Linked DNA regions of Homo sapiens: regions 2, 3, 4, 5 and 6 are each linked to region 1. The links are contacts of gene promoters, found by promoter capture Hi-C in blood cells and fetal thymus (Javierre and others, 2016). All regions are on one chromosome and are shown on one strand. Each heading gives the region's core, a stretch centred on a gene start or on the middle of the fragment in contact. The rest is flanking DNA. Distances are from core to core; before and after follow the strand shown. Region 1 holds the start of DPH6 (diphthamine biosynthesis 6). Region 2 overlaps FAM98B (family with sequence similarity 98 member B). Region 3 has its middle 4.7 kb from the start of FAM98B. Region 4 overlaps SPRED1 (sprouty related EVH1 domain containing 1). Region 5 has its middle 5.4 kb from the start of SPRED1. Region 6 has its middle 14 kb from the start of LINC01852.

Evidence for each region. Contacts are between HindIII fragments. The CHiCAGO score rates a contact against its expected background, and 5 or more counts as called.
Region 2: a fragment that was not itself captured here is called in contact with the fragment with the promoter of DPH6 in region 1 in 2 of 17 cell types (naive CD8 T cells and total B cells); the score reaches 8.0 in naive CD8 T cells.
Region 3: a fragment that was not itself captured here is called in contact with the fragment with the promoter of DPH6 in region 1 in 5 of 17 cell types (naive CD8 T cells, total CD8 T cells, total CD4 T cells and 2 more); the score reaches 8.0 in naive CD8 T cells.
Region 4: a fragment that was not itself captured here is called in contact with the fragment with the promoter of DPH6 in region 1 in 6 of 17 cell types (total CD8 T cells, naive B cells, total B cells and 3 more); the score reaches 10.4 in total CD8 T cells.
Region 5: a contact is called between a fragment that was not itself captured here and the fragment with the promoter of DPH6 in region 1, in 9 of 17 cell types (total CD8 T cells, naive CD4 T cells, total B cells and 6 more). The highest score is 10.4, in total CD8 T cells.
Region 6: a fragment that was not itself captured here is called in contact with the fragment with the promoter of DPH6 in region 1 in 1 of 17 cell types (total B cells); the score reaches 7.8 in total B cells.

Annotation. Positions count from the first base shown.
Region 1 is chr15:35,544,297-35,548,024 of GRCh38, forward strand. It overlaps DPH6 (diphthamine biosynthesis 6), which reads right to left and starts at 1,869. Exons shown (of 9, transcript NM_080650.4): 1 at 1,823-1,869. The coding sequence starts at 1,845. DPH6-DT (DPH6 divergent transcript) reads left to right here and starts at 1,899. Exons shown (of 3, transcript NR_038251.1): 1 at 1,899-2,177. RefSeq lists an enhancer at 870-1,804 and silencers at 1,852-1,991, 2,292-2,341. The HindIII fragment of the contact is 1,793 bases long and covers 640-2,432 here.
Region 2 is chr15:38,464,906-38,468,633 of GRCh38, forward strand. FAM98B (family with sequence similarity 98 member B) reads left to right here. Exons shown (of 8, transcript NM_173611.4): 3 at 364-498. Among named protein-coding and RNA genes, the nearest start is that of FAM98B, 13 kb to the left of the region's middle. The HindIII fragment of the contact is 742 bases long and covers 1,606-2,347 here.
Region 3 is chr15:38,447,574-38,451,301 of GRCh38, forward strand. No RefSeq gene overlaps it. Among named protein-coding and RNA genes, the nearest start is that of FAM98B, 4.7 kb to the right of the region's middle. The HindIII fragment of the contact is 4,148 bases long and covers 1-3,728 here.
Region 4 is chr15:38,267,060-38,270,787 of GRCh38, forward strand. The region is part of intron 1 of SPRED1 (sprouty related EVH1 domain containing 1); the gene reads left to right. Among named protein-coding and RNA genes, the nearest start is that of SPRED1, 16 kb to the left of the region's middle. The HindIII fragment of the contact is 2,564 bases long and covers 881-3,444 here.
Region 5 is chr15:38,245,569-38,249,296 of GRCh38, forward strand. No RefSeq gene overlaps it. Among named protein-coding and RNA genes, the nearest start is that of SPRED1, 5.4 kb to the right of the region's middle. The HindIII fragment of the contact is 3,413 bases long and covers 1-3,384 here.
Region 6 is chr15:38,085,174-38,088,901 of GRCh38, forward strand. No RefSeq gene overlaps it. Among named protein-coding and RNA genes, the nearest start is that of LINC01852, 14 kb to the left of the region's middle. RefSeq lists a silencer at 842-901. The HindIII fragment of the contact is 1,110 bases long and covers 1,078-2,187 here.

The sequences.
Region 1 (3,728 bases), core at 619-3,118:
GTTCTATGAGAGCATATGGACACAGGGAGGGGCACATCACACACTGGGGCCTGTGGGGGTTTGGGGGTTAGGGGAGGGATAACATTAGGAGAAATACCTAATGTAGGTGATGGGTTGATGGGTGCAGCAAACCACCGTGGCACATGTATACCTATGTAAAAAAACTGCACGTTCTGCACATGTAACCCAGAACTTAAAGTATAATAAAAAAAAAATTTAAAAAAGGAAAATAATCTTCTTAGAAAGATATGTAAGAATCCCAGTTTCACTTATTCACTTATAATACATAATTATATATAATGCATATATATAGAATACATAGGCATCTGTATCATAAGCATACAGGTAAATGCTTACGTATTCATACTTACAGCATATGTCCTTACAGCTCTTACGCTTCAGCAAGAATTTTCCAACATTGCTTTTTTAGCAAACTTTTTTTATTATAAAGCAACATATGCACATTACAGGTTATTTAGTGTAACTGACTCTACCAATCTTCTCTCCTCCCCTCCAATACTTCTAAGTCTTTGTTTGTTGTGCTTTACTTTAATCGTTAAACTTTTGGCAAGCGATGTAAATTTGAATTATTCACTTCCTGGGGTACTTTTAATTCTTAAAATAAGACACAATGGTTAAAGCTTAATCATTTATGTTACAGAGGACATTTACTGAACAACAATAATTATTGTGACATTATGGTCTAGTCTCCTAAAAATGACATTGAAGGAAAGGGAACCGGAATATTCCAGACACTACAGTAGGTCTGAAATCTCATATCAAGTCCTTAATAGGTCAAAACTTACAGCCAGTATCAATTACCTAAGGGACTTAACGAAAACGTTTATGAAATCTTCAATTGGATTACAAAAGCAAGCACATCGTTGCACTGTATCTAAGACACTCTACAGGGCAAAATCTCATGAAACAAGTATTTAAGTAGTCTAACTTTTTAATGTTGCTAGTGTGTTCCCTTCTGCCTCAGTTTATAGATTGAGTATGGAAATATTTAAGCAGGTTTGTTTTTGGTTTGTCAGTCACAGGACTTATTTAGACACTTAAATTTATGATTTGGTTACTACAGACATCAAACTCCTTTTGGAATACGGAGTATAGGGTAAGGTCACTCTAAAGCAATGATGAGAGTCCGAAGCAACAGCAACTGGATCTAGCATAAGACTAGTACAATTCGGTCTCTACCACGAAGAGAGATCTCTGTACTTGAGTGCCCAAAGGCAGAAACACACACATGCCATAAGCAATCCACATCTGTGAAGATGAGGGAGGGGTGGACTTCTTGGGATGGGCGGAAACACTTACAACTAGGGAGGAAGCCAGGCTGCGGCGGACCCAGCTGACCAAAGGAACTACAGAAGAGGACGAAGAAAGCGAGGGGGAAAGGGCGAGGGTTATTAACTGAGTTGATGGAATAAGGTAGTGGCTCCAAACTTCACGGCTCATTAGAGCTTGAAAAAAAAAAATCAGACGCCGGGTCGCACAGAAGTAATTAAACCAATCCCTCTGGCGGTGGGGCCCAGGCGTCGGTACTTTTTTTAATTTCCCACTTGAATCCAATGGGAATCCAAGTTTAAGGGCTAGAAGACCAGAGAGCGACAGACAGGGAGGAGGCGCGCCAGCCAGGGGCCGAGGCACATGCGGGCCGGCAACAGCGAAGGCTCCGCCTCTTCCTGTGGCTCGGAGGAGCCGCGGAACCCCCAACGCGCGACTCAGACGGAGACACCCACTCTTTCGGCGCTAGCGGCGGCTGGAAGGGACGAGAGCCTGGCCTAGGAGGAAGGAGGCGGCTCCAGGACCGCATTACCTGATCAGAGCCGCGACCCTCATGCTGGGCGCAGTGCGCGTGCGTGCGGCGAGCGCGGGCGGGAGCCAGGAGGTCGCGCCGCAGCTCGCGTGACGCACCGCGGGGCCTCGCCCGGGTGTTCGCTCCGCCGCCTGTCCGCGGATCGGCGCTGCGAGCCCCGCGGCTGCCTGCGGGACACCTGAGCGCGGAGGGTGCGGCACCTTGGCACCTTGACCCTGTGGCAGGGACATCTCGGCCCAGGAAAGAATGAGGTTTAGGCACGGCCTAACCACCTAAGTGAGGGCACTGAAGCTGCCGGGGGAAGGGCAAGGTCCGCGTTGCAGAGCCCAAGCCCAGTGGCGCAGGATTTGTTTTGGTAAGAGGGGATTTAGCGTCCCAATTGCTGCAAATTGACACAGTTGCGGACGTGCAAGCGCAGAAGAAATTTGTCCTTCCTCACCCCACAGAACAGAAACAACTGTACACTTCTGCTTTTTAACTTACATCTCCTCTGTCCTCCAAACCTGTGTGTCCAGATGTGAAACTCAGATCCCCAGGGGCTGTGGTAATTTTTAAATCTGGGGCTAGCCCCCCCCACCTCTAGGCCCTCTGTGGCTTTGGCTCTTGGTCAAGCTTGTGTATTTGACAAGGCCAGGCCAGGCTCTTCACCAAAGAGCAATGGCCTTGCAGAAAGAAAATCTAGCTTCTAAGTTTATTTGCCAAGTATGTATTGAGTGCCTTTCGTGTACCAGGCACTGTTTTAGACTCTGTGGATACAACCGTAAATAAAACAAAAACCCGGCATTCCGGGCATAGAGCTTAAATGGGGATGGAGAGAACAGACAATACATATCTTAAAGGTAAATAGTCTGTTGAAGAGTGAAAAGTGCTATTGGAAAGGGGCGGGGTGCGGTGGGGGAGAGTCAGGAGAGAGGTGGAGAGGCAAATTGCAGAATTAAATCGTGTCTATGTAGGCCTTATTGGTAAGATGAGAGTTGAGCCAATTTAAATAAGGAGAGTTCGCTATGTGTATGATTGGGGTGTGCTCCAGACAAGAAAAAAAAATCGAAGGCTCTAGGTGCGTTGTGTGTTTGTGGAAGATTAAGGCAGATCCGTGTTGCTGGAGCAGATTGAGCAAAGCAGAGAGTAGTGGAGAGCAGGTTAAGGTGATGGAGGGGAAGGATTATATAGGGTCTTGTAGGTAATTGCAGACTTTTGAAGGGTGTGACTTAAAATTTTAAAAGGATTGCAGTGTTGAGAATCCACCTATTAGGAAGCTGTTACAGTGTTCCAGTAGAGAGATGGCGGAGCCTAGAATCAACATGGTGAATTTGGTGAGAAGTAAGAGGATTCCAGCTCTATTTTGAAGATAGAGCCAATAGAATCAAATTCGATATGGGATACAAGAGAAAGAAAGTCATGAGGGATGATGCCAAAGGCATGAATTAAGTAAGTTAATATATGTAGGGAACTTAAAATTATGCCAGGTACATAGTAAGCATTCAATTTTATTTTGACATTCTCAACTCTAATAGTAGGGGTGACTAGAGCAGTGACAGTCTACATATCAGTTTTAGCGTCTAGAATCATACAGCTTTAAGATTTTGCAGTTATGAATATTTACCAAATGAGTCAAGTATTTAAGAAGTTTGCAGTCTAATTGGAGGAGATAAATACGTGAAACACACTTAAAATGATACAGCTCCAATGAGTGGAAGAAGCACCAGGGCTCTCGTCTCATGCCGAATTGGGTAAAATGACACAGACACACATGGAGTGGTTTTAAGGGGTGGAGAATTTAATAGGCAAGAAAGAAGGGTGAAGAAAGGAAGAAGCTCCCCTGTAGAGACACATGGAAGTGGGCTCCAAAGCCTAGAGAGGAAACCCCCAGTGCTGGGGTTAACAGGCAGTTATATGAGGAGACTGG
Region 2 (3,728 bases), core at 727-3,226, 2.9 Mb after region 1:
CTAACAGTTCACTTGACGCAAAGTAAACTAATTTGAATTCTAAACATATAACACGACTGCCTACATAATTACATTATGAAATAAAGATAAGCAGTGAGGGTTAATTAGATGGTTGCATTTATTTTCTGAATATATAGAAATATAGTAGAAATGGATCATTTGCTCTGAAGTGAATTAATAATTATAGCCATAATAATGCTTTTACTATTTCAGTTGTTAACGTAAGCTTCGTGATCACACATTTAAGGATTTAATGTGAAAATTTAGAATTGAATGTAAAATGGAAATAAACGAGTAGATTTTATAGTATTGGATTATATGGTAAATGCTCAGTAAATGTTTTATGATTTTTCTTTTTTAAAGGAAGAGATGATCTAGAGAGCTTCCAGCTTGAGATAAGTGGCTTTTTAAAAGAAATGGCATGTCCATATTCTGTACTCATATCAGGAGATATTAAAGATCGTTTAAAAAAGAAGGAGGACTGTTTGAAACTTCTATGTAAGTTATCTTGAACATTTAAATGCATGTGTTTGACATGGTTTTTATTATTTTCAAGTCAAGATTTATTAATGAAGCATTAGACATTTTGTATATTAAAAGGGTTTTAATATTTTACTTAAAATACAAAGCTATCTCAGAAATGTTTATATAATATAGTATAAATTTTACCAGTATGCCTTCTAACACTTGTGATTTATTTGGCCAATATAGAATGTCCTGTGTTTGTGATTTATATAGTACTTTAGTAATTTTTCCTTTATCTCATTCTATCTGTTATTGTTCGTGACTATATGGCTAACATTGATGATCTCCAAAGTCCTATTTAATCTAAAAACTCTCTGAAACTAGGCACTGGATGATAATTTGTTGATCACTTACTCTAACACCAAGAACTGCTCTGGATACTAGGGATATATGAGGGTTGCTTGTTTTGTTTTTTTTTAAAAAATATAAAATTTGTGCCTTTAGGACACTTTAAATGTGGCCAGTTTCATCAGGGAGGGATTTGGAATATAGGTCATACTGTATTCAAACAATTACCATAAATAGTAGGTCCATGTTTGTGTTGGGTTCCTTTCATCATTTTTTTACTTTAGGCTAATTTTATAATGTTTTTAAAGTTCTACAAACAATGACTATTTGAAAGAATTTTTCTAATACCTTCTATTATTGAAGATTTCTATTTCAGATCATGCCATTTATAAAAAGATTACACGTGACATATTCCTCCTAGGCGCTAGTGTTTTAATAAAGTTTGTTTCATTAGAGATGAAATTTGTGTGTGTGTGTGTGTGTGTGTGTGTGTGTGTGTGTTTAGTGGTGACAAAAGTATTGGCATTGAAATTACCTTGTGTGTGTTGAGTGGGGATAAAAATTATATGCCCTCTCTCTCCATCCCAATACACCATTCTCCATCTTCCTCCCATTTGGTGTGAGTCACTGATTTAATGAACCACTGTTATTGGGAGATCACAGTAACTCTTAGGTATATTGGGACAGAAAGGAACCTAGGAAACACCGGCTAGAGGAACTTGCATATCCTTAATATCAGTCAATGAGAATTATGTAATCCATCATGGTTCCCTTTCTCCTTAGCTGCTAAGAAGCTTAGCAATTGTAGTGATACAGGTTTCTGGTACAAGTAGGAATAAAAAAGAAATTTAACAGAAATATATAGTTTTTTTCTGATTATAAAAATAACATGTTCAGGAGGGCGGTGATGAGGAGTTAGTGTTTAATGGGTACAGAGTTTCAGTGAGGAAGACGAAAAAGTTCTGAAGATGGATGGTGACGTCATAGAACTGTATACTTAAAAATGATTAAAATGGTAAATTTTATATGTGCAAAAATTACATGCTTATCATAGAAATCTTAGAAAATACATAAAACATAAAGAAGAAAAGCATTTATAATCTCACTCCCTAGAGAGAATATTGTGTCTCTGTTTTCTGTGTACATACACACAACACTCTCACACTCGCACTCACTCTTAAATAAGATTAAGATCCTGTTTCAGATCCTTCTCCTCCTCCTCTTCATTTGATGTGTCGTTTTTCTCTTTATTTCCCTATCACTTGTTTTTTGAAAAACTAAATTGGCTCTGCTATTGACATAACATTATGTGTAATAGATTTCAAATTTGGAGGTATTTGGATTTTTTTCTATTTTAAAATGATTTCCTTGTTTATATTTTTGCTTACTTAGACAAAGATTAGGAACATTTAAAATAGTCTCCGGTCTAGATGTATATTGCCATATTTTGCTCCAGAAAGGTTATACTAGTTCACAGTCTTACCAGCATCTAGTCTTTCTTCAGTTTGACTGTTTTAATCATATTGATATAATAAGCTTCTTCATGTTCTTTTTGAAAGTGTTTGCAACATGTATAAAATTAAAAGGGCCAAATCCTGTACTATGTAAAGAGCTTTTATAAATCAACAGGAAAAAGATAAAAATCCACTGGGAAAATGTGTAAAATACATAAGACATGAACACGCATTCTACAGAAAATTTTTTTTTAACTGCTTCTAAGCATGACAAGATGCACAATATCACTTATGACAGGATACCATTTTTCACTCAAAAAATCATAATAGAAGTTTGGGGGAGTAAGCCTTTTCGTATACTACAGACATTAGACTGTGGTGGGAGAATAACTTGTACAGCCTCTTAGGAGGACACATTTTCAATGTCACATTAAAATTCACTTGGCTTTTGGACTTGGCAATTCTTTTGACTTGGCAATTGTTTGTCTATGAATATATATCTATTTCCCCAAGTGTACAAAGATAAATGAAAACCATGTTCATTATGACATTGTAGTAATAAAAAGACCAGAAACCTGAGTGTCCATAAATATAGATAAATAGAAGTGGTACATTAATGCAGTGATGTCACTAGATAGGTAATAGGAAGAATGCAGATAAATCAAATGTGCTGATGTGGAATGATCTCTAAGATATGTTGGTAAATACAAAATAAATATACAGGACATGTATAGCATGTTCTTGTTTGTATAAAAGGAACAAACGCACACAGATGGCTACTAGGTATCTTGAATACATACACACACACATGCCTAAAAGGATACCCAAGAAATTAATGGTGATTGCCTCTGGGAAGGGGGAATCTAAGGATCTGCAAAAGGAAGAAGGCTTAATTTTCCCTCTACTGCTTACTATCTGCATGGATTAGCATCGTAAATGCTAAACCCTTGTTTGTACTATTACATGGAGAAAGCATGTTTCCATAGAGCAAAAGTAGACTTCAGCCAAGGTTCTGTCTAAAATATAAATTTTTGAAAAACTGGCAATCTGTTTTAATCAAGTTTAATCAAGTTTTTATTATGAGATGGGGTCTCACTGTGTTGCCCAGGCTGGAGTGTGATGGTGCGATTGTAGCCCCTCAAACTCTGGAGCTCAAGCGATCCTCTCATCTCAGCCTGCATAACTGGGACTACAGGCGTACACCACCATGCCTAGCAAATTTTTAAAAAATATTTTGTAAAGATGGGTCTGTGTTGCCCAGGTAGGTCTTAAACTCCTGGGCCCAAGCTGTCCTCCTACCTTAGCCTCCCAAAATACTGGGATTACAGGCCTGAGCCACCATAGCTGGTCTTAATGAAGTTTTTAAGTCAGAAGGACCTTAGTATAGTCCTCATAAGGAAAGTTTAATATTGGTCTTAAAGTTTAATAATTGATCTTAATATTTTGGTACTTGACTCTTTA
Region 3 (3,728 bases), core at 665-3,164, 2.9 Mb after region 1:
AAGGACATGAATAGACATTTCTCAAAAGAAGATATACAAACAGCCAACAAACATTTGAAAAAATGCTCAACATCACTAATTATCAGAGAATGCAAGTTAAAACCACAATGAGATACTATTTTATTCCTGCAAGAGTGGCCATAATTTAAAAGTCAAAAACCAATAGACGTTGGAGTAGATGTGGTGAAAAGGGAACACTTTTACACTGTTGATGGGAACAGAAATTAGTACAGCCATTGTGGAAAACAGTATGGAGATTCCTTAAAGAACTAAAATGTGGAACTACCATTTGATCCAACAATCTCACTACTGGGTATCTACCCAAAGGAAAAGAAGTCATTATATCAAAAAGACACATTCACATGCAAGTTTATAGCAGTGCAATTTGCAATTTTAAAGATATAGAACCAACATAAGTGCCCATCAACCAATGAGTGGATAAAGAAAATATCCTATATATACACCATGAAATACTAATCAGCCATAAAAAGGAAAGAAATAATGTCTTTTGTAGCAACTTGGATGGAGCCGGAGGCCATTATTCTAAATGAAGTAACTCAGGAATGGAAAATCAAATATTGTATGTTCTCACTTTTAAGAGGGAGCTAAGCTATGAGGACACAAAGGCCTAAGAGTGATGTAATGGACTTTGGGGACTCACGGTGGTGGGACTTTGGTGGTGGTGGGGGAAACTATGTTTGGGAGGGTGGTGAGGCATAAAAGACTACATATTGGGTACAGTATACACTGCCTGGGTGACGTGTGCACTAAAATCTGAGAATTTACCACTAAAGAACTTATCCATGTAACCAAAAACCACTGATATTCCAAAAAAATTGAAATAAAAAAACTAAATTAATTAATTAAAAAACAGTGTATAAGAGTTCCAGTGTTAACATTCTTGCCAATCTTTGATATTGTCAAGGTTTTGTTTGTTTGTTTGTTTGAGGGAGGATTTTAGCCTTTCTTTCTGTGTATGTAGTAATATGTCTTGATTATTTGGATTTGCATTTCTCTAATGCCAATGAGATTGAGCACTGTCTCGTGTAGGTTTCGGTGGTTTGAATATTCTCTTCTGTGAAATGTTTATTCAACTCTTTTTTCCACTTTTCTTCTCCCAACTTTGAGTTAGTTGTGAATTGTCTTTGTCTAATTGATTTGAAGGATTTCTTTACATAATCTGAATAGGAGTCCCTTGTCAAATACATGTATCACAAATATTTTCTCTCATTTGTGTAGCTTGCATTCTGGCTTTTTTAATGGAATCTTTTTCAGATCTTAATTTAATAAAGACCAAGTTGCCAACATAATATAGAATATCATCATGTTCTGTAAAATATGCAAAGATTTCTTTTCTTTTTTTTCTTTTTTTCTTTTGAGAGGGAGTCTCGCTCTCTCGCCAGGCTGGAGTGCAGTGGCACAACCTCAGCTCTCTGCAACCTCCTTCTCAGGGTTCGGTTCAAGCAATTCTCCTGCCTCAGCCTCCTGAGTAGCTGGGACTACAGGTGTGCGCCACCACACATGGCTAATTTTTGTATTTTTAGTAGAGACAGGGTTTCACCATGTTGGCCAGGATGGTCTCGATCTCCTGACCTCATGATCTGCCCTCCTCGGCCTCCCAAAATGCTGGGATTATAGGCGTGAGCCACCATGCCCAGCCACAAAGATTTCTGAAATAGGACACAAAAGCCCTAACCAGTATATTTAGAGATCTTTGCTTATCTCAAGTTCATGAAGACAGTTTATGTTATCTCCTAAAAACTTTATTGTTTTCTCTTTTAATTTACATCTACCATTATCAGGAGTTAATTTTTGTGTATAGCATGAGGTTGAAGTGGAAGATCTGGATATCCCATTGCCAGCACTGTATGTTGAAAAGGCCTGAACTGAAATGGCAACTTGGTCATTACTTAGGTGACTTTGAAAGTGCAGCTCTATATTCATGAGGGAAATTAGTCTACAGATTCCCTTTTTAGTAATGTCCTCATTGGTGTTTGTTTTAAGATTAGGTTGTCTTCACAGAAAACATTGAAAATGCTCCATGTTTTCCTGGTCTCTTGGAAAGTTTGTGTAAGAATGGTGCTACTTATGTGGAGGAATTCATCAGGAAAGCAATCTAGGCTTGGAGTTTTCTTTGTGGATGAATTTTAATTAGTGATTAAGTTTCTTTAATAGATACTGAACCATTCATATTTTAATTTTTTCTGATATTTGTTAAATTGTATTTTGCAAGAAATTTATCAACTTCCTTTAAATTTTTAAATTTAAAGTTGTTCATAACATTCTCTTTTAACTATTTAATGTCTGATAAATAGTACTGATATTTTTCATTTCTTATATTGGTTGTTTGTTCTTTTCCCCCACCTTGATCAGCCTTGCTAAAGATCTGTCAATTTTATTAGCCTTTGCAGACTCAGATTTTGGCTTAATTTTCTCTATTGCATTTTCTTCCTATTTCGTTGGTGTCTACTCTTTATTGTTTTTATTTCTCTGCTTCTTTGGATTTCATTTGTTTTTCAGCCTCTTAAGATTGATACTTAAGTAATTTTTAATCTTTTTTCATTTCTAATATTCACACCTAATGCTATATATTTTCCTCTAAGAATGAATCCACATATGTTGAATCCTGCATGTGTTGATATGTTGTGTTTTTATTATCACTCAGTTCAAAACTCTCTAATATCCATTATAATTTCTAGTTTGAGGCCTGGTTATTTAGAAGTGTATTGCTTGAATTCCCATCAATTAGTTAAGGGATTTTTTAGTTTTCTTTTTAAATTCTTAATTCCTTATTTTTTTTGTTAGACAATCTCATACTCGGGAATTAATTCGTATTTTAAATCCACTTTAGTCAGAGAACATGCTCTTTATGATTTCAATTTTGAATTTGGTGAGACTTACTTTAGGATCCACTATAGGGTTAAGTTTTATAAATTACATGTGCACTTGAAAAATGCATATTCTGAAGTTTTGGGAGGGGTAGAGATTTATCTATATCAATTAGGTCAAATTTATAAATTATGTTTTCCAAGTCTTATTGACTTGGAATATTTTATGCCTACTGATTTTTTTTGACTGCTTGTTATATTAGTTAATGTGATTGTGACTTTGTCTATTTCTCCTTTAAGTTGTTGGCTTTTAAATTTATATACTCTGAGGCTGGTTATTAAGCAAATAAACATTTAGAATTCTTATGGTTTTCTGCGTCATGACCCTTTTATCATTATGAAATGTCCCTATTTATCTCTCTGTAATATTATAATGCTTCTGTGTTAATAGCTATTTTTTCTAATATTAATATTGCTACCCAGCCATGTTTTGGTTTGATATTTTATCTTCCATTTTTGCCTTCTTTTAGATTTAGTAAGTATTTTTCATTATTCCATTTCTCCCTTTTCTTAGTTGTTAGTTATATACTATTTCATAATTCTGTTAGTGATTACCTAAATGATGGCAATATGCAATCTTGATTTGCTACCATAAATTCATTATTTTACCACTGCCTGGATAATGGAAGAACATTATTGTTTTTAAACTCTTTGTCAGCACCTCACCCCCTGAATTCTCTCTATATTTTACATTTCAGAAGTCATTACTATTACTGTTTTGAATAGTCAATATATATCTAGTTTCACTTACATATTTACCATTTCCAGTGATACTCTTCATTATTTTTTGCACCATTGGGATTTCATCTGGCATCATTTTTTTTTCATCTGGCATCATTT
Region 4 (3,728 bases), core at 913-3,412, 2.7 Mb after region 1:
AATGAGCAATAATTACATCAAAAGAAATCAACTAAAAACCCAGCACAGCTTTCAACTGCATCTAGTTCCATACACATTTTTGCTTGTGTACATACACATATTATTTACCTGATTAAGTATATCACCTGATATACTTAATATAAAGACTTAGGCGTATATCTAGTTTTTAAATAATCATTTTAGTACTGTAATATTTCACATTGTTTTACCAAAAGTTTACCTACTTGTTATCTCTTTAAAGAACACTTTAGGTTTCCAGCTCTTTGCTATTACAAATAACATTTTTAAGGAGCATCTTTTTGCATATAAATATTTTCTTCTCTTTAGTAAAATTTCTTAAGATAAATTTACAGGAGTGGGATAAGTGTGTCAAAGAGTACAAGTGGTTTTTTAAAATTCTTAATATGAACTGCCACTTCTGAAAATTCACATTTTTTTCTATCGTGGATTATTTGTAATGAAATTTGTTCTTAAATTTCTTAGATTCCTTTTTTGTTCTTTGGTACCTTGTGGTTTTATGTAGCTCTCAGTACATAATTAAATGACAGCTCATATATGAGTAAGTAACAGCATTGGCCTAAAATCATTTCATGCATTTAGTCTTTATAATAACCATGTAAGTGTTTGTTATAATGTTACTACTCCCATTTACAAAGCCAAGGAAACTGAGGTGCAGGAAAGTTAAATGACTTGGCAAAGATTACATACTTGGTAAAGTCTTATGATTCCAAAGCCTATGCCCTAAAACAATGGCTTTCAGACTTTTTGACTGCATCACAGTAACAAACACATTCTGCATTTTGACACTTTGACATCAGCAGTGTACATACACGCACGTATGCCCATAGGATATACATATGAAAAGATTTAGTGTTTAAAAAGCTTTCCATCTTTTCCTAATACACATAATTAAAAACATTTCATATTGGGAAAACAACTGTCCTAGTGATTAGAATTCAGTGTTCACATAACTCTGAGTTAGTTTACTGGATTTACAAATAATTATATACTTATAAAAGATTAATTTGCAATACATTGCTATATCATTTGGAGCACTTCAGTGAAGACATCTGAAAAAGCAATGATGTAATAACATTTGCTGTCTCTACTCTAGCTACAGCAATTCAATTCTGAATTCTTCTGCAGTCCCTCACAGCTCAGCCTTGAAACCCACTCTTGTGAGTATCCTATGCCTTTTAGTATTATCTCTTATTTTCATGAAATAAGCTGAACATAAATGTGAATCTTCACTACCAACACGGAGGTACATCCTTAGAGGAGAACAACATCCCAAATACTTCACAGTAGTTTAGAACAGGGAATTTTTCAATGGCAATGGGTCTCCATCAGCATTATGTTTCCATGTAGAATGGAATAGAATACCAAAGTCAGCCTGTGTGTTGTCACAGTAAGTCTAAGTTGTTTTGTGAAAAGTTATGTGTGTGCGTGATACACTTACCCTTGTGACTACCAGTCATTCCCAAACAAATTCACAAGGATGTTGAGACCATGTAGGGGGTGGGGGAATAGCCTAAACATTTAAAAGTGACCAGGGTATAGTAAATGATAAATCATCATACAGGACCCATCATTTAAAAAGATATTGTTAATACTGTGTTATTTGAGCATACTTTCCTTATTGCTTTATGTTAATGAAAGTAAGGTAATTAAAAGATTTTTCACAGGTTGTGTTAAAAGTGTATGGCTTCAGTCTCTTAACCTTGTTTTCTAAGTTTTTACTGTTCATTCCTTAATAGTAACCATATCATCTTAGTTGGAGAGGGATTCCTATCTACCTCAGTACATTTTCAGTCTTTGAAATCATCAGATTATAAAGGAGTTGTAGAAACAGAAATCATATTTATAGTACTAACTTTTTTCTTTTTTTTTTTTTTTTTTGAGACAGAGTCCCGCTCCGTCGCCTAGGCTGGAGTGCAGTGGCGCGATCTCGGCTACTGCAAGCCCCGCTTCCCGGGTTCACGCTATTCCCCTGCCTCAGCCTCCTGAGTAGCTGGGACTAAGGTGCCCACCACCATGTCTGGCTAATTTTTTTGGTATTTTTAGTAGAGACGGGGTTTCACCGTGTGTTAGCCAGGGTGGTCTGGATCTCCTAACCTTGTGATCTGCCCGCCTCAGCCTCCCAAAGTGCTGGGATTCCAGGCGTGAGCCACCGCACCCAGCCAGTACTAACTTTTTTTTAAGAGACAGTGTCTCTCACTTTGTTACACAGGCTGGAGTGCAGTGGCACAATCACAGCACGCTAACCTCGAACTGTCAGGCTCAAGTGATTAATCTGTCTCAGCCTCCTGAGTAGCTTGGACTACAGGTGCCTGCCGCCATGCCCAGTAATTTTTAAATTTTTTTGTAGAGACAGGGTCTTGATTTTGTTGGCCAGCCGGGCTGGTCTCAACTCCTGAGCTCAAGTGGTCCTCCCACTTCAGCCTCCCAGAGTGCTGAGATCACAGGTGTGAGCCACCATGCCTGGCCCTTACTACTAGCATTTAATTCATTGTCTCTCACTGTTTTTTCCAAATGTTTGTTACTTTACTGAAAGATACTACCTTTGTTATCTGCTAAAATTTTTACTTCCATTTGCTGCCAGTTGGGCTTTATTAGAATTCTTTGAGAATCTAAAGCAGTGAGTACAATAGAACATTCTGTGATGATGGAAACATTCTGTTTGTGGTATCCACTATGGTAGCTACTATATAGTTATTTGGCTGTACTTGAAGTGGTTTGAGTGACTGAGGAGTTAAATTTTAAATTTTATTTAATTTATATAGCCACAAGTGGCCAGTGTTGACTGCTGTATTGGATGGCACAAATCTGGAGCATTTCTTTCTTTCTTTTTTTTTTTTTTTTTTTTGAGACAGAGTCTTGCTCTGTCTCCCAGGCTGGAGTGCAGTGGCACGATCTTAGACCACTGCAACCCCTGCCTCCCAGGTTCAAGTGATTCTCCTGCCTCAGCCTCCCGAGTAGCTGGGATTAAAGACGTGTGCCACCATGCCCGGCTAATTTTGTATTTTTAATAGAGACGGGGTTTCAACCATGTTGGCCACGCTGTCATGAACTCCCGACCTCAGGTGATCTGCCTGCCTCGGCCTCCCAAAGTACTGGGATTACAGGCATGAGCCACCATGCCCAGCCCAAATCTGGAACATTTCTATTCCTTCAAGCCCAACACCTTTTTTGAAAACTATGACATGTTCTCCATTCACTCTGCTGAAGAAAGTTTCTAATTGTTTTTTCATGGAGAGGTAACTTGAGGTAGCATAGCTTTTTCCAAAATGTGGAATTTGCCACTGGTATGTAAGATAATTTTAGTTGTTTCACAGACATGGCATTTATATTAGTCTGTTCTCACTGCTATAAAGAACCATCTGAGATGGGTAATTATTAAGAAAAGAGGTTTAATTAACTCACAGTTCTGTAGGCTATACAGGAAGCTTGGCAGGGAGGCCTCAGGAAACTTACAATCATGGTGGCAGGCAAAGGGGAAGCAAGTATTAGCAAGGCAGAGCAGGAGAGAGCCAAGTGGGAAGTGCTACACACTTCAAACAACTAGATGATCTGAGAACTCTATCACAAGAACAGCGAGGGGGTAGTCTGCCCCTCTTTCAACACATGGGGATTACATACTCGACCTGAGATTTCAGTGGGGACACAGAGCCAAACCAAATCAGCATTAAATTAAATTGAGAAGTTATTCCTTTCTTAATACTTGTTGA
Region 5 (3,728 bases), core at 428-2,927, 2.7 Mb after region 1:
GCAATATTAAACATGAACACTTAAAACATTTTTTTGTGTGTGACGGAGTCTCACTCTGTTGCCCAGGCTGGAGTGCAGTGGTGCGATCTTGGCTCACTGCAATTTCCACCTACTGGGTTCACGCCATTCTCCTGCTTCAGCCTCCCGAGTGGCTGGGTCTACAGGCACCCGCCACCATGCCCGGCCAATTTTTTGTGTTTTTAGTAGAGACAGAGTTTCACCATGTTAACCGGGATGGTCTCGATCTCCTGACCTCGTGATCCGCCTGCCTTGCCTCCCAAAGTGCTGGGATTACAGGCGTGAGCCACAGCGCCTGGCCAAAACATTTTTATATGCGGGGTGTGGTGGCTGACGCCTGTAATCCCAGCACTTTGGGAGGCCGAGACAGATGGATTGCTTGAGCTCAGGAGTTTGAGGCCAGTCTGGGCAACATGGCGAAACCCCCTCTCTACAAAATACAAAAATTAGCTGGGCATGGTGATGGGTGCCTGTAGTCCCACCTACTTGGAGGCTGAGGTGGGAGGATTGCTTGACTCTGGGAAGTGGAGATTGCAATGAGCTGAGATTGTGCCACTGCACTCCAGCCTGGGCAACAGAGGAAGAAAAAAAAAAAACCCAAACTAAACAAACAAAAACCATTTTTTAACAAAATAAACCAGTCAATGAATTTATGCTTCCCAGTATAGATATGTTCTGTAGGTTTATCAAAGACTTATACATCAAAGATAATTATGAAATTATCCTCCCTTTTACCCTTAGTTAATGGCAATGAAGAGATGATCTACAGTGCCCCAGTTCACACTAATAATGTATTTGAGAGCATAATCCTTGTTACATGTCTACTTTAATAACAAGATAACTACTTTTGTTATTTACAGCAACACATTTGCACATTCATGTGTCTAAGAAAACAACCCGTGATGACAGAAATGTTTTATATCTAGATTGTTCAATATGATAGCGACTAACCACTTGTGGCTATTGAGCACTTGAAACATGGCTAGTATACCTGAGGAATAAACAGCCACATATGGCTAGTGGTTACCATGATCATCGATATCTGCTAGCATCACCCAAAGACAACCAGATGTTATTTGCCTTCTGATTGAAGTAGTCCTCCTATCAAGGCTCTAGATTTAGAAACCAATTTACAAAAGAGACTCCAGATGTCCCCAGACCCTACTCTAAGAACTGATGGTATAAAGGAACTTACGTACCTGAGGCCCACAAAAGGCAGCTGATAATAGCCAAGGAATTTAATTCTTTCGTTATCTAAAAGTAGGACTCTCCTGTTAAATCATTATCCAAAGTAATAATGACTTGAAAGTCTATCCCACCAAATATCCCATCTTTGAGAAATTATAATATTGAAACATACACACATACACACCCACACACACAGAATTTTGAAGGAGGGGATGAAACGGGGTTGAGCTCTAGCCATGCCTTTACTATTGTGTAACCTCTGGGACCTCTCTGATCTTCAGTTTGCAAGTCTCTTTGTAACCTGGAGTTAATAATAATACCTACTGGGGAAGGGTGTTAGGAAGGTAAGTTCCTGAAGGGCAATGTGTATTTCAAATGTAATCCTGTTGTAATCCTATACCATGGTTAATTAGTACTCATTAAAAGGGAAAGCAATGCCATATTTAAAGCAAAATCCAAGGAACCAACCTAGAATCTTTTGTCATACTAAATTTGTGTTGCACGTGGCCTTGGATTATTTTATGATGGGTATTTCAGTCCTTCATATTTGTTGTAGTGGGACATAACCGTTAAAGAATGAGCATGCTAAAGCCATTTGGGAGAATAATGGTAAGTGCTTTATTTAGTAGTGTGGGGTCTGGTAAGCATCCTCCCTGCTAAGATTATACAGAAAATAAAGGAAATTGCAGACTGCTCATTTCCCTTGTACTCATCCTAATCTTGTGGAAACTTCCTGTAAAAGGCAGTTATAGCATTAAAAGTAAACTGATTACACACTCACCGGATACTGCCAAACCAACAATTGCCGTCCTTAGGGAAAAAAGGAAAACAGCATACTTATCCTTTATACTTTGCATTAGTTTGGAAGAACATGGGAATCCTAGTGATGGGGAAGCAGACTCATGCCAGAGGCAAGGAAACTATTTAGAAACATGGTTACCACTTAGTAATTCCACTGAGAGGCAGGGCTCATTAGCCAAGAGACTGGTTAAACTAAAGAAAAAAAATCATTTATTAAACAAAGTACATGATGAAAATAGGAAGTTCCGATTGATCAAGGCACACATTAACTACAGTTTTAAAAAACAAAATTTTAATAACATCTGCTAAGGAGTAATGTTAAGGGTAATTTTAGAAATGGAAATATGCACTTGTATTTTATGTACTTTTAGAACCTCATATGTTGGCATGGCTGTCTCCTCTTTTGGCTTCTCAAGAATACAAATATCTGATGAGAGCTTCTGGTGCAAGGCACAGTGTATGTGAAATGCTAAACTGCAATAGTATTAAGTCCCAATAGTAAGCCAGAGGGGATTCCTGATTTCAACTCCAGTGCCAGTCAGTATAGCTTCATTTTTATATATAGTCAAGGCTCTGGTATAGTATTTTACCTAAAAAGCCTCTATTACTTACGACCACTGCTAAAAAGGATGCCAAAAAATATAAAGGGCAGCCCCTACCTTCAAGTCACTAAAATTTAATTGGGAAAACAAATATAAACTCATAAAAAATGAATCAGCAAAAATAATAATTATCAACACAAGTATAAACAGCAAAGGCAAAAATAAAAGAATCTGAGAAGACCAATTCTGAACTCATAAGAAAGATGATTACTATGGGCTGAGCAATGTGAAAAAAAGAAAAGAAACTTTGAATAGGAAAATAGCATGCCATCTGCCAGTGTCTCAGTGAGGACAGCCTACTTTTTGCTGTCCTTGTGAATAAACCCTGGCCTGATACCTACATGGAACTCAGAATCCACTTGTACCTTCTTAACTTGGATCATATCCTATACTGGCAATTACTTGGCAATTGTTCTCTTGTTCCTCCCTCTTTGGCCCATGGATCCTATTGATAATTAATTACCTCGAACAGGTCATTAAATGGTTGTGGCTAATTCCTAAAGCTGAGGACAATAATACAGATAGTCACTTGTGATAACCAGCTATTGTGACTAGCTTCCTTCCCACAGGGCTACCTAGAAAACACAACTGAGCAAATATAAGTATCTCCTTTCTTGCTGAGCCCGAATGTGGCCATAGAATTCTTCTTGATTAGTACCAACTGAATGGAGTTGGAGCTTAAGACAAAACTGTGATCTGTATTTAGCTTCTCACATCTGGCTGGATCCCCTTTCCTAACTGAACTATCCCTCTGGCCTTGACCAGTGTCTATCTAAGCTTATGATATACCACTGGCCACCCTTTTTTGTGTTTAGCTGGAACACAGCTTTCAATCACGGATGTGCTGGGAGACAGGATGACAAAAATGGTTTTAAGGAAAGGGGGAGTAGATGATGAAGGACTAAAAAGGGCCAAGCACCTGGCATACTTACAAAAGCATGGCCCCATCATAGACCTAGTGATCACAATTTCTGAGCTGGGGTCTAGGAATCTGCATTTTAAGTACTTGCAGTGTATTTTAAAAAAATTATTATAGAACATTTTAAATTATAAAATAGTAAAGAGAATGTATTCATCATTAATCTATAACCAATCTTGTTTCATCTATATCCTTACCCA
Region 6 (3,728 bases), core at 383-2,882, 2.5 Mb after region 1:
ACTCGAAGAATGGGATTTAACTCTCTTCTCTCTCTCTCTCATTGTCTCTCCCCACCTCTCTCGCACGTGTGCGCGCTCACACACCCACACCCACCCACACACACAGACACTGTGGTACTTTAGTCTCATTAACAGGTGCCTTTCAGCTACTTCCTTTTTCTAAAACAAGAAGTATTGAGTCAGCAACTTGGCCAGGGGGAACTCAAAACAATGTCTATTAATAATGAAGACTTCCTAATGTTGGCAAAATCTGTTTCCCCTTTAGAAGACTGAGAGAGCAAGCTACTAAAAGTTAGTATCCCTCACGAAGTCAAAGAGATTTAGGAAAAGCTTTCTAGAAGTCTTGATTTAGTTAAAATTTGGGCCACATATTTTGGGACAGAGCCCAGAGTTCTTTATGTTGGCTGTTGATAGAGGCAGCTTCCATTTCAAGATAAAAACTAACAAATAATTAAAATGTGTTAAATATTTACTGTGTTCTAAGTATTGTGATAAGCTCTTGTATGAACTTATTATTTGACCCCAACAACAGCCCTGATAGTGAAGCTGGGAGTGGAGATCTGGTCTTTCTGATTTAAAGGAGATGCTCTTTGCTGTTACCTTAAACTGTGTTCATCTGAAGTCCCTAATTTAGGATAAACGTGGGTGAGACATGGATGGAGTCTCTATTCTGAAGAACTTGCATTCCACAAATTTCTCATTGAGAGAAGCAGAGAAAGAGAATGCCAGTTTCCCAAGATGTCTCAGGAATAGGATTCAGGGTTTGGGATTGAATATCAGACAAACCTACATATTCCCTCCCTCTGCTTACATTGTAAGGTGTTGGCTCATTTCTGAAAGCAAAGGCATTTAAACTATCTCACGGACAACTCACTCTGGCCCAAACCACCACATTCACTTGAAACAAGAAGTGTATGCAGTGGTTCAGGGTGACCCAGCTAAGAGCAGTCCCATTTAAAGCTATTAAGTGTGGTTTCTTTTTCAGTGAGGTCATCCTGTTTAATCTCTCTGAATTGAAACAGCCTATAAAGCAGCCTCTCAAAAAGCTTATCTCAATTTGTTTCTGGGTGGACTAGAAGCTTCAACTTTTTAAGAGTGCCTTCTTAAAGTGAGGAGGAGGAAGAGTTTGGTAGCAAGAGGAAGGACTGGTAAGAAGGACAAAAGCAGTAAAATGTAGTCACATGGAGAAACTACTGAAGGGATTGCAAAAGGACACAGAAAGAGGTTGGGAGCACAGACAAGGAGGAAGTTTGAAGACTCCCTGTCCATTTTCTCACCATTCAGTAGATCTGTTCTTGCTTAGAACCAACTGTAAGAAAGAGAAGATATAGGAAGAATCACATTTCAGAGAATGTGTTTCCATATCCCACCATGGAAAACTGCCCACTGCAGTTTCAGCTTGTTTATAATGCATCACAGTGATGCCTTCCTGGAAACATGTATAAAATAAAAGGTATATGTCTTATTTAAAATTCTCTATTGACAGGTTTCTAAAATCAGAAACTTTGGGCGGAATGGGGAGGATGTGAGTAGTAATCTCACTTGAACATGCCCTCCAGGTAAAGTTAGAGGACCAGTGGCTTCTATGCCTTTGTCTCACCCACACATCTCCAGCAGGAAAAGACAGTCAAAGCCATGTGAGCGTCCTTCAATTCAGACCACCAGATAAAAATAGATCTGTATATTCTGATTGCTCAAGTGAAAAACAAGTTGCAGAATAATATGAAGAGCATGATATCATTTTATCTATATGTATCTGTCTATCTGCTTTGTTTATTAACAGCAAATTTCCCAAGGAACTTTGTTTTTTTGATAGTTACATTTAGGGATCAAGATATTTGGGGGTGGGAGAGAGGAGACGAACTTTTTATGTTTATGAACTTTTATACTTTGGTCACCATAAGAATTCCTTCCTTTAATATTTTTGTATTTTTTAAGTTTCACAGATGAATCTGATCAGCCCAAATTAGGAAACACTGTAGACAACTGGTTGTTAGTTTCTATCAGTTTAGTAGCCATTAAGTGACTGTTTAAACATTTGTTCATTGACTCTGTGATTCTCTCAGGCTCACTGTTTTCTGTAGCTTCCTTAGAAGTCTTGCTCCAGAATATACGTGCATTCAAGATGGGACATCCTTGGGGTAGCACCAGTCTACCAGGACCAGCCTTGGAGCTCTGCAGCACAGAAGCTTCTCAAATTCATTGCACCAACAGGTCCACAGTTCCCCACATTGATTCAGCAGCAGTGTGGCCAGATCCAGGAAGATGATACTGAGAAAACCAATATGGTTTGCACGGGTGAATTCAATTAGCAAATATCAAAACCATTTGTCTAAAAGCGTCCTGCTTGTTCCCTCTACAGAGATCAATATGCCCTGTTAGCATCCAGGATGGAAAATAATATCCAAGAGCAAAACAAATCTGTGTCAGCATTATAATAGTCTCATCTTTTTCATTCACCTAAAAGCAAGAAGAGCCCCAGGCATAATTGTTAAGTACCTTAAACTTGTGTTCAGGTCTTTCTAATCTCCACTTTCCAAGCCTTTCTCATCCTCTTACTGCCAGGTGTTATGCTGGAAACCGAACTCCGTGTCTGTGCCCTGGAGTACCCAAAATTGACATTGGAAGGGAGCAGGAATTCTGCAGCACCCTCCCATGACTGCCTACCATGAAGAATGTTTAAAACTATTCAAGCAGCCGGATCATTTGAGGTCAGGAGTTCAAGACCAGTCTGGCCAACATGGTGAAAGCCCATCTCTACTAAAAAAAATACATAAAAAATTAGCGGGGCATAGTGGCATATGCCTGTAATCCCAGCTACCAGGCAGTCTGAGAAGGGAGAATCGCTTAAACTCGTGAGGCAGAGGATGCAGTGAGCTGAGATCATGCCTCTGCACTCCAACCTGGGCAACAGAGTGAGACACCATCTAAAAAAAAAAAAAACAGAACAAAACTATTCAAAATTGCTGCACCCAGCATCAAAATTATACCTTCTTCCTCCCTTCCCCATCCAAATGTTTAGTGTCTTAATATTTCAGTCTTATTTAGCTGTAACTAAAGAAGGCAATTCCAAAAAATCACACCAAGGATTACATCAGTAGTTCTCCATCTTGTCCCAAACCAGCATGCCTGGAAGCTAAGACACATGGAATAGTGGGGAAAAGGAGGAGAAAAGGGGGAGAAAAGGGGGAGAAAAGGGGGAGAAAAGGGGGACTGTTTCAGAATTTTAAGGAGGATGAAGCATGTAGTTTGAAAGAATCCTCAATTTCGATATGTAGTCTTTGAGTGACCTCTTTGAGAGTCATTTGATTAGCTATCTATTAATTTCATAGTCAATTTTCCAGGGGTATTTGTATGTCAATGGGGCAATTTTTTAAACCAAAACTGAATCTTGGCTGGGCCCAGTAACTCATGCCTGTAATCCCAGCACTTTGGGAGGCCGAGGTGGGTGGATCGCGAGGTCAAGAGATCGAGACCATCCTGGCCTACATGGTGAAACCCCATTTCTACTAAAAATACAAAAATTAGCTGGGTGTGGTGGCGCGCACCTGTAGTCCCAGCTACTTAGGAGGCTGAGGCAGAAGAATTGCTTGAACCCAAGAGGTGGAGGTTGCAGTTAGATGAGATCTTGCCACTGCACTCCAGCCTGGGTGACAGAGCGAGACGCAATCTCAAAAAACAAACAAACAAACATATAAACAACTGAATCTCTAATTATGTAACTACAG